Regions from separate parts of the Homo sapiens genome. Here regions 1, 2, 3 and 4 are each linked to region 5. Evidence: promoter capture Hi-C in 16 types of primary human blood cells and fetal thymus (Javierre and others, 2016). All regions are on one chromosome and are shown on one strand. Each heading gives the region's core, a stretch centred on a gene start or on the middle of the fragment in contact. The rest is flanking DNA. Distances are from core to core; before and after follow the strand shown.

Region 1 (2,700 bases), core at 78-2,577, 4.8 Mb before region 5:
GGCTGATTGGAGCTGTGCACTGTGAAGGATGAGAGCTGGGCACACACAACAACTGAGGAATTCATTGGGAGGTGAGTCAGAAGGAGGAGGAGGATGAAGAGGAAGAGGAGGAGGAGGGTGAGGAGGAGGGAGAGGGGAAGGAGGACGGGGAGGGAGGGGGAAGGAGGGGGAGGAGGAGGAGGAGGAGAAGGGGCTGCACATGCCTCAGCAAGGGCAGTACTGAGCAGAAGATGATCATAAAGTCACTTCCTCCATGTCTTGGTTTTTAAATCATTGCTGTCTGTGGGATTTGTCCTCTGGGCTCCTTCTTACCCCAGATGCAGTCTTGGGCACACACCCTAGCCTTTCCAGTCACTCGGAGACAACACAGTCCAGTGTGATGTGCTGTCACTTATTTCCTGTCTTCAACTTAGCTTCTTACCCATGGAGCTGGTGGCCGTTCTTAGACGCTAGCAAGATGGGTGTGGGTGGGTGGGAATGGGGCAAGACAGGCTTTTCCTCTGTTCCAACATTTTCCTTATTCACCAGCTTGTTTGTGACCCCTCCAAGCTTGGGGTAGGAGAAGGGATCAGGAGAAAAAGATGCAGTCTTTGTAACCTGGCTTCCCAAAGTGCTTGAGTCATAGTCCAAGAACAAAGAACAGGCTGGTGGGGTGGGCTTCTCTCCTGCAGCGAGCTCCTTGGGACGGAAGAGCATCTTCCGCACAGGACTGGGGCAGAGCTCAGCCAGGAGACCCACATTACACCCAGATTATTTTAAGAGAGAAAAGGTAAAAGCAAAACACTAAAATATCACAGGAGGAGCCACCGCAAGAAGCAGCTGACACCTTGGGCTGGAGAGAATAAAAGAAGGAGGAAGGAGTGAGCAAAACTCAGAAATGTGGAGGAGCTGCCACCCAGAAATCACACTCAGACATATGAAGAAGGGACCTTCTGGGCTGGTGCTGAGGCCTCTGCTCTTGGACTCAGGGCTCTGTGGAGCTGGGAAACCAACTTTGCTGGTATCTCCGAGGGGATGCTATGAGGCTGGCTCTGCGTGTGTCAGAGAAACTGCAGACCCAATTCGTATGCCGCTCTGTTCATGAACTGCCACTGCCAGGTGCGAAAGCAAGGATAGCAAGACGCTAGCAGGACCAGGAGTCGGACAGGACAGAATGGGAGGCACAGGCCCCTCTCCTACCTCTTATCTTCTGGTTTCCTTGTGTATATCTGTTGGCACAGCTGAACAGAACTCTGGCAGGAGAGGTGGCACGTGGCTCCCCAGTCCCTACGTCACAAGGCAGAGTATAAAAGGGAAGGTGTGGGGCCGAGAGACAGTAACTTAACCACCAGCTCAGGGTCCTGGGATTCATCCCTCTTCCAGTCAGCAGGAAGTGACAAAGAGCACAGGAAGGCCCTAGGGGCCAGGCCCCTTTTGCTGATGTTTGGCTGGTAGAACTTAATCACATGTCAGGTGCAGGGAGGCTGGGGAATAACTAGACAGAATAGAAACAAGTTTTGGTGAGTGGCTGCCACTGGTGCTGTGTGGATACAGTTCAAAGTGAGGACTTTCCAGCTGTGGACATCCAGCTACAGTTCTTTGAATGGGGGATGGAAGAGCAAAGTTTTATTTCTGGCTGCTCACTTTGCCTCAGCCTCGCTTTCCTCGCAGCTCCCACTGAAATGCCCACCGTATCCAGTATGCAGAACTCCTGCTCATCCCAGTGCGGGTGAGCATGCGGCTCAGTCACCTCCAACCCATCTCCTGGAGCTGTCCCACGGTTCCCTTGGAACCACTCTAGGGCATGTAGCATCTGACTCTGAGTGCTTCACTTCGTGGGGGCACTGATTAAAACAAAGCTCTGGAATATAGCATCATCGAGAGGCAACTGTTGATTTAATTTATTAACATATACATCCACTGAAATGGCTGCTAGATGTGGTCTAGAAACCAAGGAGACCCCCCACTGGCCTCAGGTGAAGGGGAAACATGTCCCTCCCTTTCCTATCCCTCCTCAGAGTTAGGTGGGACATGCCCTTGCCAGCTGCTCTACAGAGAATCCCCTCCTCAACACCTGTCACCTCTGAGCACCTGCCGCCTTCTTCCTCCGATCCCGGAAGCTACAAGAAGCTTCTCGTGTGACCAACTCTTACAGCCGCCAGGTGTTCACAAACCCGCAAGGCAGAGTGGGCTTGTCCTCCTTTACAGAGGGCGACTGCAATGTGAGAGTTGTGAAAGTCCTTTCAAATGTTGCTTTTTTTTTTTTTACTTTTCTCAATCAGCTTTCTCAGGTTGAAGAAAATTTTGCTTAATAATCATATCAGTTTTGCTTTCTATTTCAAACTAATTGTTTCAAAACTAAATTTTATTTGTCCGGTTTCTAAGTAACATCAGTGTTTCAGGAAGAAGCAACATGTTTACTCTCTGGCTTCAAATCACTTTGAGGGTAAGAGCTGAGGCTGTGAGCAAATTGCTGATGTCTGAGGACAAGTCGAAACCCCACCACTATAACCCTGAGTGTTGAGAAAAACTGGAGCAAAGACAGCTTAGGACTAAGCCTGGTGGAACGTGTGTGGGCGGATAGCAAAGTGGTTCCCACAAGACGCCTTCCACCCTAGGATGCCCCAGAGGATGGCCTTTCCCCTCAGCAAGAAGGTTCGGTTAAGTCCTAATACCGTCGGAAATTCTATTTATGTGGAAAACACACAGGGAAAGACAGAC
Region 2 (2,700 bases), core at 1-2,500, 3.6 Mb before region 5:
AGGGAGACCCTGTCTCAAAAAAAAAAATCTTTTTTTTTTTTTTGAGACGGGGTCTCGCTCTGTCACCCAGGCTGGAGTGCAGTGGCGCGATCTCGGCTCACTGCAAGCTCTGCCTCTCGGGTTCACGCCATTCTCTTGCCTCAGCCCCCCGAGTAGCTGGGACTACAGGCGCCCGCCACCACGCCTGGCTAATTTTTTGTATTTTTACTAGAGATGGGGTTTCACCGTGTTAGCCAGGATGGTCTCGATCTCCTGACCTCGTGATCCGCCCACCTTGGCCTCCCAAAGTGCTGGGATTACAGGCGTGAGCCACCGTGCCCGGCCAAAAAAGATCATTCTTATTGTGAATGATGTTTTGGTGATAGCTGGAGAAGGTAGGGAAAATATATCCATCCTAGGCACATTGAAGTCCATGAAGAAGAAATCCAAAGCATTGGAACAGAATATATTTTAAAAACTAATTCAAGAAAGCTTTTGTGAAGTAAAACAAGACACAAGAGCGTCTGCCGTTTGCAGGTACGCACCCTATACCGGAGGAAGTGGACAGGAAACAGTGACGATCATCTGCACGTGCCATGAGTGGCTTGTAAGGGAAAGTTCGTTAGATTCTTCAGGGCAGCGTTCCGTGCCAGGGTCTTAGAGGCAGCAACACGAGAGGCCCAAGGAACGTGGAAGCCAAAATATTATCCTAGCTTTGGAGTCCCTCATGTAAAATCTGTCAGGTTTTGAAGACTCAGGTGTAGGGAGTCTGAGTGCTGTGCCCCATGAAGACTCCACCATGGTCGGCTTTGTGACCAGCTCCCTTCGCTGCAGACTCTTAATTTTGCAGGGCGTTTTCATGTGACACATTGATGGTTTCTAATACACAGGTGTGCCGTCTACATCCAGTGACTCCGTGAGGTCTTTCAGAAACGCTTCGCAGGACTCTGTTAATCATGGTGCCATAACTGGTTAGGGTCAAAGGAGCAAGTGACAAAATGAACAAATAAAGAGATAAAGAGAGGTGCACAGGTGTGACGTCCATAGTCAGTACATACAGGCTGAACTAGGGCTTAGGACAAGTGCTGTGGGCTGTGTGTGACAACCAGTTTGTGGTTTTGTAATGTGGCATCTGTAAGCAGCCTGTGTCTCAAGAGGACATTTTTTAGCAGATTGGCATCTGCAGGTTTTCCAGTCTAATTCCATGCTTACCAGTCCACCCATACGGTTCCACCACACCGTGTGTCCCACACCAGACACTTAAGAGAGAAGGTTCACTGAGCAGGCGGCATGCAGGAAGGCATCGTGGCCCCAGCCCTGCCCACAGGCTGTCTGCCCTTTGGGTGACTGGCATCTGCAGGGTATGGTACAAAGGTCCTTCCACGTCTGGGATTCACCTGCCCAGGGCTCTGATGAAATACAGATCATGATTAACGTAATCTTGTAGAAAGTTGAAGCAGTTACAGAAATGGGTGAATAAGAAAGTGAAAGTGACTAAGCTCCATGGCCCAGAAGGAACAGCGCTGTGAATGCTTTGGGTCCATTCTTGCAGGTGCTTCTGCAGGTGCACATGCCCACACATGGCGAATGACATTCTATTTATTGGGCATTAAGTTTGATATTTTTATGTTTTATATTGTCATTAAAAAGTTCACTTGTCAATGAATATTGATATTTGTATTAGTCTGTTTTCACTCTGCTATAAAGAACTACCTGAGACTGGGTAATTTATGAAGAGAAAATGTTTAATTGACTCACAGTTCCGCATGGCTGGGGAGGACTCAGGAAACTTACAATCATGGCAGAAGGCAAAGGGGAAGTAAAGACCTTCACATGGTGGCAGGAGAGAGAGCGAGTGAAGGGGGATCTGCCTCACTCTTTCAAACCATTACATGTCATGAGAATTCACTATCACAAGAAACCGCCTGCATGATCCAGTCACCTCCCACTGGGTCCCTTCCTTGTCCTGTGGGGATCACACTTCAAGATGAGATTGGGTGGGGACACAGAATCAAACCATATCAGTATTATTTTACAATTCTGAATTATTTCAAGCTTACAGAAAAGTAGTAGAGAGTTCATTATTGCAAACGTCTACATACCCCACCTTCCTTAAGAAAAAGAAAAGCACTGTGCTGTCTCGGGCTCAGCAAAACCATTTTCTTTCTTTTTAAAAAAATAGACCATCTCAGGCTGGGTGTCATGGCTCACACCTGTAATCCCAGCACTTTGGGAGGCCAAGAGAGGTGGGTCACCTGAGGTCAGGAATTCCACACCAGCCTAGCCAGCATAGTGAAACCCCATCCCTACTAAAAATACAAAACTCCAAAAAAAAAAAAAAAAGGTAGCCAAAAGCCCTCATGCATGCATGTAAGTTGCAGTGTGCTCAGAGATGTAGTCTCTACCCTATGCTGCAGTATTTGCTGAAATTGGTCTTATGACTTAGGGCGTAATAGGTTTGTCTTTTTTTTTTTTTTTTTTTTGAGACAGAGTCTAGGTCTGTCACCCAGGCTGGAGTGCAATGGCACGATCTCGGCTCATTGCAACCTCTGCCTCCTGGGTTCAAGCGATTCTCATGCGTCAGCCTCCCGAGTAGCTGGGACTACAGGTGTGTGCCATCACACCTGGCTGATTTTTGTATTTTCAGTATAGACAAGGTTTCACCATGTTGGCCAGGCTGGTCTCCAACTCCTGACCTCACATGATCCACCTGCCTCAGCC
Region 3 (2,700 bases), core at 155-2,654, 3.9 Mb before region 5:
AATTTGAACTACATTTGAGTCAATTTAAGAAAAAATTACATATTTCATGTTCAAGTGCAGAGAGTTCTCTACATCTCATCAAGGCAAAGAAAAACTAAGTGATCTGGGGAATTTCATGACAATGGATATGGTAAAAAGAAGTTTGGAGGTCAGAAGCTGGACAAAGAGAAAAATCAATATTCAAGAATCCTCTAAAACAAAGAACCATGACTACAGGGAAAGCCTTCAACAGTAGGAATTACTACAGAAATAGAAAGTATCAATGCAATAAAAGTGCATCTTAAAAAAATGAAAATGATCACAGCCAGTGAGAACTACTATCACAAAAATTACTCTGGATTTCCTTAAGAGTAAGATTAGTGTATGTTTTTTATGCTATTACGCAGCTGATATCTAATTTTACTTACTGCCTATTACACAATTCAGAAATCTCAATATGTGAAGTTATGAAAGTCAATATTCTAGCAAGTATGGAAAAAAATGAGTCTCTTAACCAAATTCCACTGAGAAGGCATCTCTTCCCACTGTATTTCTGACACTCCTTAGAGTCTTACCTTCATGGTGTCGATCTTGCCTTTAACTTGCTCATTTTTAGCTAGAGCCCTCTCCAGGCACTCTTTGGTGTAGAGCTGGGGATTTCGACCTTGATCTATATATCTGGAAACACGATATATTTCAATTAGCATTCTCATGACTGACACCTATTCTCACAGCTTTCTGAAAGGTATGGGGGAATAAAGGTTAGGTATATATAACTGCACACGGCCTTGTTTAGACAAAACTCAGTGTAGGAACCAGGGGAATTAATATTCCCTCATTTACACAAGTACAGATCATCTGATTTCATTACTTCTGATAATACGAACAGCTCATAAAATCAAGTAATGATCACTGATAAACCCAAGCACGCTTCACAAGCCATACCACTTTACATGTGTTTAGCATTTGCACTTTTCAAAATTCGTTCATGCTATTTATTACCTTTTTGATCCTTACAGCAGCTTGTATGGTAAGGCAACTCTTGACAAAAGAAAAAACTAAATGAGATCCAGGGGTTCGGGCCTGGGTGACATAGGCGGATCCTTCCACGATGCAGCCTCCATTCTAGGTCAGCCCTGCTGCTTGGCAAAGCCCCTCCTCCTCTGTGGAGGAGCTTCAGGGGAAAGGAAAGGAGAACTACAAGCACAAGAGCCCCAGCCCTGACGACCCCAAGATCCTTTTACAAACCATTCCACTGCTTTAAAAAGAAGAGGCGGCTTGATATACCACTTTACTAAATACACCTAGGTAACTTAAATATAACAGAGACATTCTGGCCAATTATTTCTAAACAGTATAAAACTGTTACTTAGAATTTCTGACACTTCCCCCAGAAATTATCTTCAGTATCCTGAAGATTTAATTAAACATACTGCCTAGATCAATACCTATATTTTACCAAGAGCAGGCCACCTACCTTTTTCTGTACCCTAAAGAAATCCTTATCATTCAACTAAACTGAATCATTCATTATTTAAAAAACAAAAAACAAAAACTGAAAACTAACTCTACTTTCGAATTTTATAATTGAGGCCAAAAATATATAATCACTTCAGAACAAGATATCATTAGGTTACTACTAATGGTATAAAAAGTAGCCTTGATAGATAGCAAAAGATAAAAACATCACAAGTTCTAGAAATTCTATTTCATTTCAGTGTTTTTGAAATAATGTAATGTGGCAAAATTATGGTTAATTCTAAACAAAATCTATCCATTTCTCAAGAAAAACCTGACAGGCTCACAGAATAAGGTTAACCATGTCAGCTGACGGTCGTTTCTTCAACAGCATGGACATCCTGCTCAGACTTGGTTCTTTGAAGACCGAAGGGTGAACCCACTCCTGCCCACACACAAAGTCCTGGAGACAAGGGCCAAGCTGCTTTCACCTTAGCTAAAGACACAGTTGGTGTGTATGAAAATGTACACGCTGCAAAGGCCACTGGGACCTGGAAATTCCTTCTACATTGGGTAGACACCAACCACCGATTTGCAGATAAACTCCCAGCATCTGCTCTGTATTAGGGCTCACTGGCATACTCTTCCTGATACCCCAGGTCAATCTCATCCATCCCCGTGCCCAGCACTTCCCTCGGCCCTTAAGCAGTCTGTTCACATCAGTCTCCATTTGTTCTGCTTCAGAAGACACAAGTAGTTACTTGCCACTTGTCACTATATGCATCCCCTGCATTCATAATCAGAAGAGCACAAAGGAGGATGCTCTGTATTCCTGGACTGAGAAAGCCAAAGCTGAGTCTGGAGCTACCTGAGGTGCAAGACCTTCGTCCCACCTGAAGTCAGAGACCTCAGTGGTGCCCACTGAGCACAGGTAAGGAACATGGGGCAAAGTCATCAGCAGGTGAACAGAAGATCAGAGACCAAGAAAACCACCTCTGTGTCCTGTCTTTGTAGGCAGCTGCTGCACTATAGCTAGAACTTGTATCTCTGACCTTTTGGGATGGAAAACAGCCATAACTCTTTCCCTTTACTGCTTAACGAAATCTAGTGATTTACATTTGCAGTTTTGCTGCAAGAAATACTAGAATGTTCTTGCTGTTCCAAGCCAGCACCATCAGGGAGAGGCTGCTTTGCACTGGTCAAGAAAGTATGAGTCCGGGGGTTTCGTCTTAACTCTGACACTTACTAGGTAAACAACCTATT
Region 4 (2,700 bases), core at 56-2,555, 3.6 Mb before region 5:
ATGAAACTTTTCCAAGTGTGGCGATTTTCTCAAGATTTTTCGACTTAAATTTGTGTGCCAGGCAAGTTCTTCAGGATACCTGACCAAAAAGAAAGCAAAACATTTATGGATTATAAATACTAAAGTCGTCTGTTGACAACTTTGTGCTTCTATCAGTCGCATGCCAAATGAGACTTCGAATGTTGTTCTCCCTGCTCCTATTCACAATCCTCTACGGACAGTCAGCAACACTCAGAGATGTCGCTGTAGGCTTAAGGAACATGGCTCTAGCTACACCGTGGCCCAATCAGAAACAGGAGAGCCATGGGGGTTACAAGATTATGCATATTACTGTAAAATTATAATGATGAAACGCTCGAGATCAGATGAAAAAGCGGACACTCCTCTGCTCTTCACCATTATAAGGTAACAATGGTAAGGTCATCAGAAAAAAAAGATACAAGATGACTTACTTAATGTGCAGATCACACAGAATCAAAATAATGCAGTGTCAGAGTGTCCCACAAATACCTGATTAGTTTTTTAAAAAATATATTTTTCATTATTTCTAACACCAGTTCAATAATGCACTAAAATATTTTACATACCAAAAAAATCCTACCTTGGAAACCACTAATGCATTAACTTGAGCTCCTAGGCTGTTACCTATATATAACTAAGAATAAAGCATTTCCTGCCATCATATCTGTGAATATATTTGAACTTTCTATAAATGATGACATCAATGTTATTTTTATTTTTTTTATTTTTTTTAATTAGGGGAGAAATGGGGGATACTAAAAACACTGCCTTTTTTTTTTTGAGACAGTCTCACTGTCACCTAGGCTGGAGTGTAGTGGTGTAATCTCAGCTCACTGTGACTTCTGCCTCCTGGATTCAAGTAATTCTCATGCCTCAGTCAGCCACCTGAGTAGCTGGGATTACAGACGTGTATTTTCAGTAGAGATGTGGTTTTGCCGTGTTGGCCAGCTTGGTCTCGAACTCCTGGCCTCGAGTGATCCGGCCGCATCAGTCTCCCAAAGTGTTGGGATTACAGGCATGAGCCACTGTACCCCACCCAGGATGTGCTTTGAAACTTGGCCTGCACCTATACAGGCATCTGCACCGTACAAATGAGCACACTGATGTCATGCAGCACCATGCTCAATCCAATGCCAAACCAAGTGTACCACGTCACACGGCCATAAATCTTAGTGTAGTTTCAGCAATTCTCACTAAACCTGAGATGCAGTAATACACTCAATTTAACAATGCAGGCTCACAATGTTTCCATGCGTCAAATTGTAGCTAGAGTGAAAACCATGAAAATAAAACTGGAATGTCTGGAAAACACAAACACATTTGACTGCTTTTAAACTCTGATTTTTTGATGGAAACAAACTCAGGACTTAAAAGCCCGACACTGCTCAAGTCAAAATATTACAAAATATACCTGAAAAGCATTTTCTACCAAATAATGAAGACGAAACTGGCTGAATCTGTCCACGGCCACCCTCCAAAGGTCCCCAGCGCTTTGATTCTATCTCATATAGCCCAGTTCCCTCCTCGACATTTAATGTGTTCAAAAATATAAAGCCAAAAGAAAATCATATTCATAAGGCAATTTTAAAAAGAATTGTTTTAAATAATCTTTTGGACTCATTAGAGGCGAAATAGTAGGTTACATGCAAATTTGGCATTTGCTATAGTATTGGGCAAATATCTGCTGTGCCACTGTAACCTCTACTTGCAAACAGCCAAATGCCAGCTCATATAGTATCTGGTCTTCCTGAACTTGTCTGTCTCAAAGCTAGTACGATCATGTAAGTTATTGCCTTACCAAATCACTAAGACATCAATATGAACACCACATGCCATTTAGACTTATTGTAAAGAGCTGAATTTTCATTTTCAAATATAGATAAGCAGTCTAGATATACTTTGAACAAATATAGCCTTATATGTCTTTTTCGTCAAATTTCTGATAGTCAAAATGTAAACGTACTATTACAAGATTAAAATTCTACAGTATTTATAATTGTGAAGGCTGTTGATCTCATGTAAAGAAACATTTAGGAACTCTGAAATATTTAAATACAAACAGAAACTAACAGATAAATGTTTATTTCCTCTGGGTACAGAGAACAGCCTGGGCAACAAAGCGAGGCCCTGTTTCTACAAGAAATGTTTTTAAATTATGTTTCTTATACAGCTTTAGGAACAGCATCATCTTTTTATGAACCAAAAAATGTTTATTAAATCTTTGTAGATTTTAACATCAAACAAAATGAGAGGTATATTTAATTTTTAGTTACTTACTTCAAATTTAGCTTGTGTCTTTTAAGAAAAAATCCTATTTGGGCTTTTTAGAGGATAAGTTAAAAGGACCACTGTCATCTTTGCATATTAAAAATTCTCAAGTGGTAAGGACTCTGTAAATATATACAACATCTATGACAAACCATCCTCAATCTAGACATTAAAAAGCACGTAACAGGCGAGGTGCAGTGGCTCATGCCTGTAACACCAGCACTTTGGGAGACCAAGGTGGGCGGATCACTTGAGGTCAGGAGTTCAAGACTAGCCTGTCCAACATGGCAAAACCCCAACTGTACAAAAAATAGAAAAAATAGCTGGGTATGGTGATGGGGGCATGTAATCCCAGCTACCTGGGACGCTGAGGTGGGAGGATCACCTGAGCCCAGGAGGTGGAGGTTGCAG
Region 5 (2,700 bases), core at 1-2,500:
CCTGGGCTCCACCCATCCTCCTGCCTCAGCCCCAGAGTAGATGGGAACACAGTCGCCAAGTCTGTTCTTGAGTTTCAGGACAGGGTCAAATGTTATAGTGCATGTATTCATTTCAGCACTTATTGAGTGCCTAATAAAGTCTGGGAATAATACAACTTTATTAGTTAAGTCCCTGCCCATGGCAGTAGGGGAGAAGCAAGGATGGAAACCCTCAACAAATAAATCTAAACCTATCAAATATTAAGTCATGATCTTGGAGGGCGGGGAGGAAGGCAGCATAAGAGATTTAGAGGACAGCTGCGGTTGCCAAGATCTTTCTGAGGCAGCATAATACAGGGCTTAAGAGTGAGACCTGCCGGGCACCGCGGTGGCTCAGGCCCAACACTTGGGGAGACCTAGACGGGTACATCACTTGAGGTCAGCCGTTCGAGACCAGCCTGGCCACTACGGCGTTAACACCGTCTCTACTAAAAATACAAAAATTAGCGAGCGTGGTGGTTCTGTGCCTGTAGTCCCAGCTGCCTGGGAGGCTGAGGCACGAGAATCACTGGAACCCGGGAGGCGGAGGCTGCAGTGAGCCGAGACCGCGCCACTGCACTCCAGCCCGGGCTACAGTCTTGTCTCAAAAAAAAAAAAAAAAAAAAAGAGTGTGGGACCCATTGCATCAGGCTGTGTAACTGTTTCTTACTAGCTGTATACCAGTGGCAAGTTACTGAACCATTTGTGCAAAATGTTAATTTATTTACCAACACTGTGTTCAGCTTGCCAGGCACCGTTCTCCTTGAATCTCACAGCAGCCCTGTGAGTAGGCACTACTGTTACCACCGTCACTTTGCAGACAGGGAACCCGAGGGACAAAGAAGTTAAGGGATTTCCTCAAAGCCACAGCTAGGAAGAGCGGCAGAACTGCGATTCCAATCCATCAGTGTGCCTCCACTATCCCTATTCCTTAAGATCGTGCCAAAGGCTGAGTCACTTGCACTAAGTAGCCTAGAACAGTCTCTGGGGAAACGCGCCCGCCGACAAGGATCGCCAGAACCGGCGCGGGCACCGCGCGGCGACCAGGAGCTCTGGTCACCGAAGGCCAGGCTGGAGGCCAGAGCAGCCGCCCGCACCCGGTCACCGCCTCGACAGTGGAGACCTCAGCTGACCGCGAGCCCCCGGCCCGCCCGCACCCCTTCTCATGCCCCCAGGAACCCGCCAAGCCGCTCCAGCCTCACCTCCTCCTCCCTCCATCGCGAGATTTCCAACAGCGTTTTTAAAAAAAAAAAAAAAAAAAAAAAAAAAAAAAAAAAAACCGGAAATGGGTCCTACCATCTTCTCGGAGCCGGAGTGCGAAGAAATAAAGAAATAGTGCTTTAAGTCAATGAATTCCTCCTTGGGACCCACTATCGAGAAACTATCAGTGGTAACGTTTTAAAAAATGACAAATTCAATCTGCTCTTGACTTGTGTGTCCTAAGATTTCCACTAAGTGTCTTCAAACCTCCCCCTCCCCGGCTTCCTGGATAATAGAAGTTCCCGAAGGCCGCCGATTCCAGAAGATACTGTCTGGCGTGAAATTAGTCTCAGTAGAAACATAAGTCCCGCGCGTCTTGTGCTGCGCGTGCGCAAGCTTTTGGGCCCTCCCGAGAAAGGGAAGTGCATTCTCGCTTCCGTAGCGGTCTCCGCCGGTTGGGGGGAAGTAATTCCGGTTGTTGCACCATGGCGTCCATGGGGACCCTCGCCTTCGATGAATATGGGCGCCCTTTCCTCATCATCAAGGATCAGGACCGCAAGTCCCGTCTTATGGGACTTGAGGCCCTCAAGGTAATGGCACAGGGACCTGCTCGCGGTGGGCTAAGGGGAGGTGGCCGAGGCCGTGGCTCTGCGCCTGCGCGAGTTGAGGAGCGGCTCTGCCATGTGCTCCCCGGAAAGGTCGAGAATCTCCGTCTCCCTGCGGTCTCCGGCCGCTCAGCCCGCTTACTGAGCTCGGGAGACGCCGGCGCCTAATCCTGGGCTCGGAATGTGGGGGCCAGCCAGGCTGGGCCGCCAGCGCCCTTCGGAGCTGGGTGGGGCCGCTCAGTCCGGTCGCCCGCGGGAGCAAAGCGGGACCGCCTCCCCGCCCGGCTCCTCCAGCCTGACGGCCGCGTGGGACTGCGCTCCAGTGGGAGGGCGCCGGGGAGATGCTCTGTCACCTGTCGGTTAAGGCGCTGCTGCTTAACCTTTCGCTGGTCCACCCGCAACGGCCCTTCCGTTTTCTTTGTCACTCGTAAAGGTGTGGTCACTTAACAGGGTATTTCATTTCTGAGTGCTTTTTTGCCCACCCTTGAGGAAAAATAGCGAAGAGTGAAAAACGGACGCACATAACCGTAATACAAGGTGGTGTGCAGTGAGAAGGACAGCTACGGAGAGGGTGCACATAAGCGTGGTGCTGGAGGACAGCTTTAGATCGGGGTGAGAGGTAGCATTCTAGGGAGAGGAAACGGTAGAAGTAAAGGCTTGGGCAAGAATGCGCATGGCACGTTGTAGAATGGAAGAGCCATCCGGTTTTAATGGAGCACTGACTTCTTTAACTTACAATAGTTCCCGAAGGTGGAAGCTATTGAATGCCCAACATGGAAAATACGACGTTATCTTTGGGGAAGAAGGGGAGCCATTGAGGGGGTTTTGAGCAGAATTTCAGTAGAGCTGCACTTCAGGCAGCAAAGCTTGAGATAGA

Evidence for each region. Contacts are between HindIII fragments. The CHiCAGO score rates a contact against its expected background, and 5 or more counts as called.
Region 1: a fragment that was not itself captured here is called in contact with the fragment with the promoter of ATPSCKMT in region 5 in 1 of 17 cell types (total B cells); the score reaches 5.4 in total B cells.
Region 2: a fragment that was not itself captured here is called in contact with the fragment with the promoter of ATPSCKMT in region 5 in 1 of 17 cell types (total B cells); the score reaches 6.6 in total B cells.
Region 3: a fragment that was not itself captured here is called in contact with the fragment with the promoter of ATPSCKMT in region 5 in 5 of 17 cell types (activated CD4 T cells, total CD8 T cells, naive CD4 T cells and 2 more); the score reaches 10.6 in activated CD4 T cells.
Region 4: a fragment that was not itself captured here is called in contact with the fragment with the promoter of ATPSCKMT in region 5 in 5 of 17 cell types (naive CD8 T cells, non-activated CD4 T cells, total B cells and 2 more); the score reaches 8.0 in naive CD8 T cells.

The regions. Positions count from the first base shown.
Region 1 is chr5:5,416,846-5,419,545 of GRCh38, forward strand. All of the region lies in intron 2 of LOC101929200 (a long non-coding RNA gene), which reads right to left. Among named protein-coding and RNA genes, the nearest start is that of ICE1, 4.5 kb to the right of the region's middle. RefSeq lists an enhancer at 2,438-2,507. The HindIII fragment of the contact is 1,560 bases long and covers 548-2,107 here.
Region 2 is chr5:6,659,089-6,661,788 of GRCh38, forward strand. The region is part of intron 3 of SRD5A1 (steroid 5 alpha-reductase 1); the gene reads left to right. Among named protein-coding and RNA genes, the nearest start is that of SRD5A1, 27 kb to the left of the region's middle. RefSeq lists an enhancer at 1,311-1,540. The HindIII fragment of the contact is 1,563 bases long and covers 470-2,032 here.
Region 3 is chr5:6,373,770-6,376,469 of GRCh38, forward strand. MED10 (mediator complex subunit 10) reads right to left here. Exons shown (of 4, transcript NM_032286.3): 3 at 555-657. Among named protein-coding and RNA genes, the nearest start is that of MED10, 3.4 kb to the right of the region's middle. The HindIII fragment of the contact is 3,447 bases long and covers 1-2,700 here.
Region 4 is chr5:6,625,591-6,628,290 of GRCh38, forward strand. NSUN2 (NOP2/Sun RNA methyltransferase 2) reads right to left here. Exons shown (of 19, transcript NM_017755.6): 4 at 1-79. Among named protein-coding and RNA genes, the nearest start is that of NSUN2, 6.1 kb to the right of the region's middle. The HindIII fragment of the contact is 3,519 bases long and covers 1-2,700 here.
Region 5 is chr5:10,248,638-10,251,337 of GRCh38, forward strand. It overlaps ATPSCKMT (ATP synthase c subunit lysine N-methyltransferase), which reads right to left and starts at 1,251. Exons shown (of 5, transcript NM_199133.4): 1 at 1,221-1,251. The coding sequence starts at 1,236. CCT5 (chaperonin containing TCP1 subunit 5) reads left to right here and starts at 1,643. Exons shown (of 11, transcript NM_012073.5): 1 at 1,643-1,808. The coding sequence starts at 1,704. RefSeq lists silencers at 1,021-1,140, 1,151-1,210, 1,961-2,030, 2,101-2,240, 2,571-2,700. The HindIII fragment of the contact is 6,282 bases long and covers 1-1,612 here.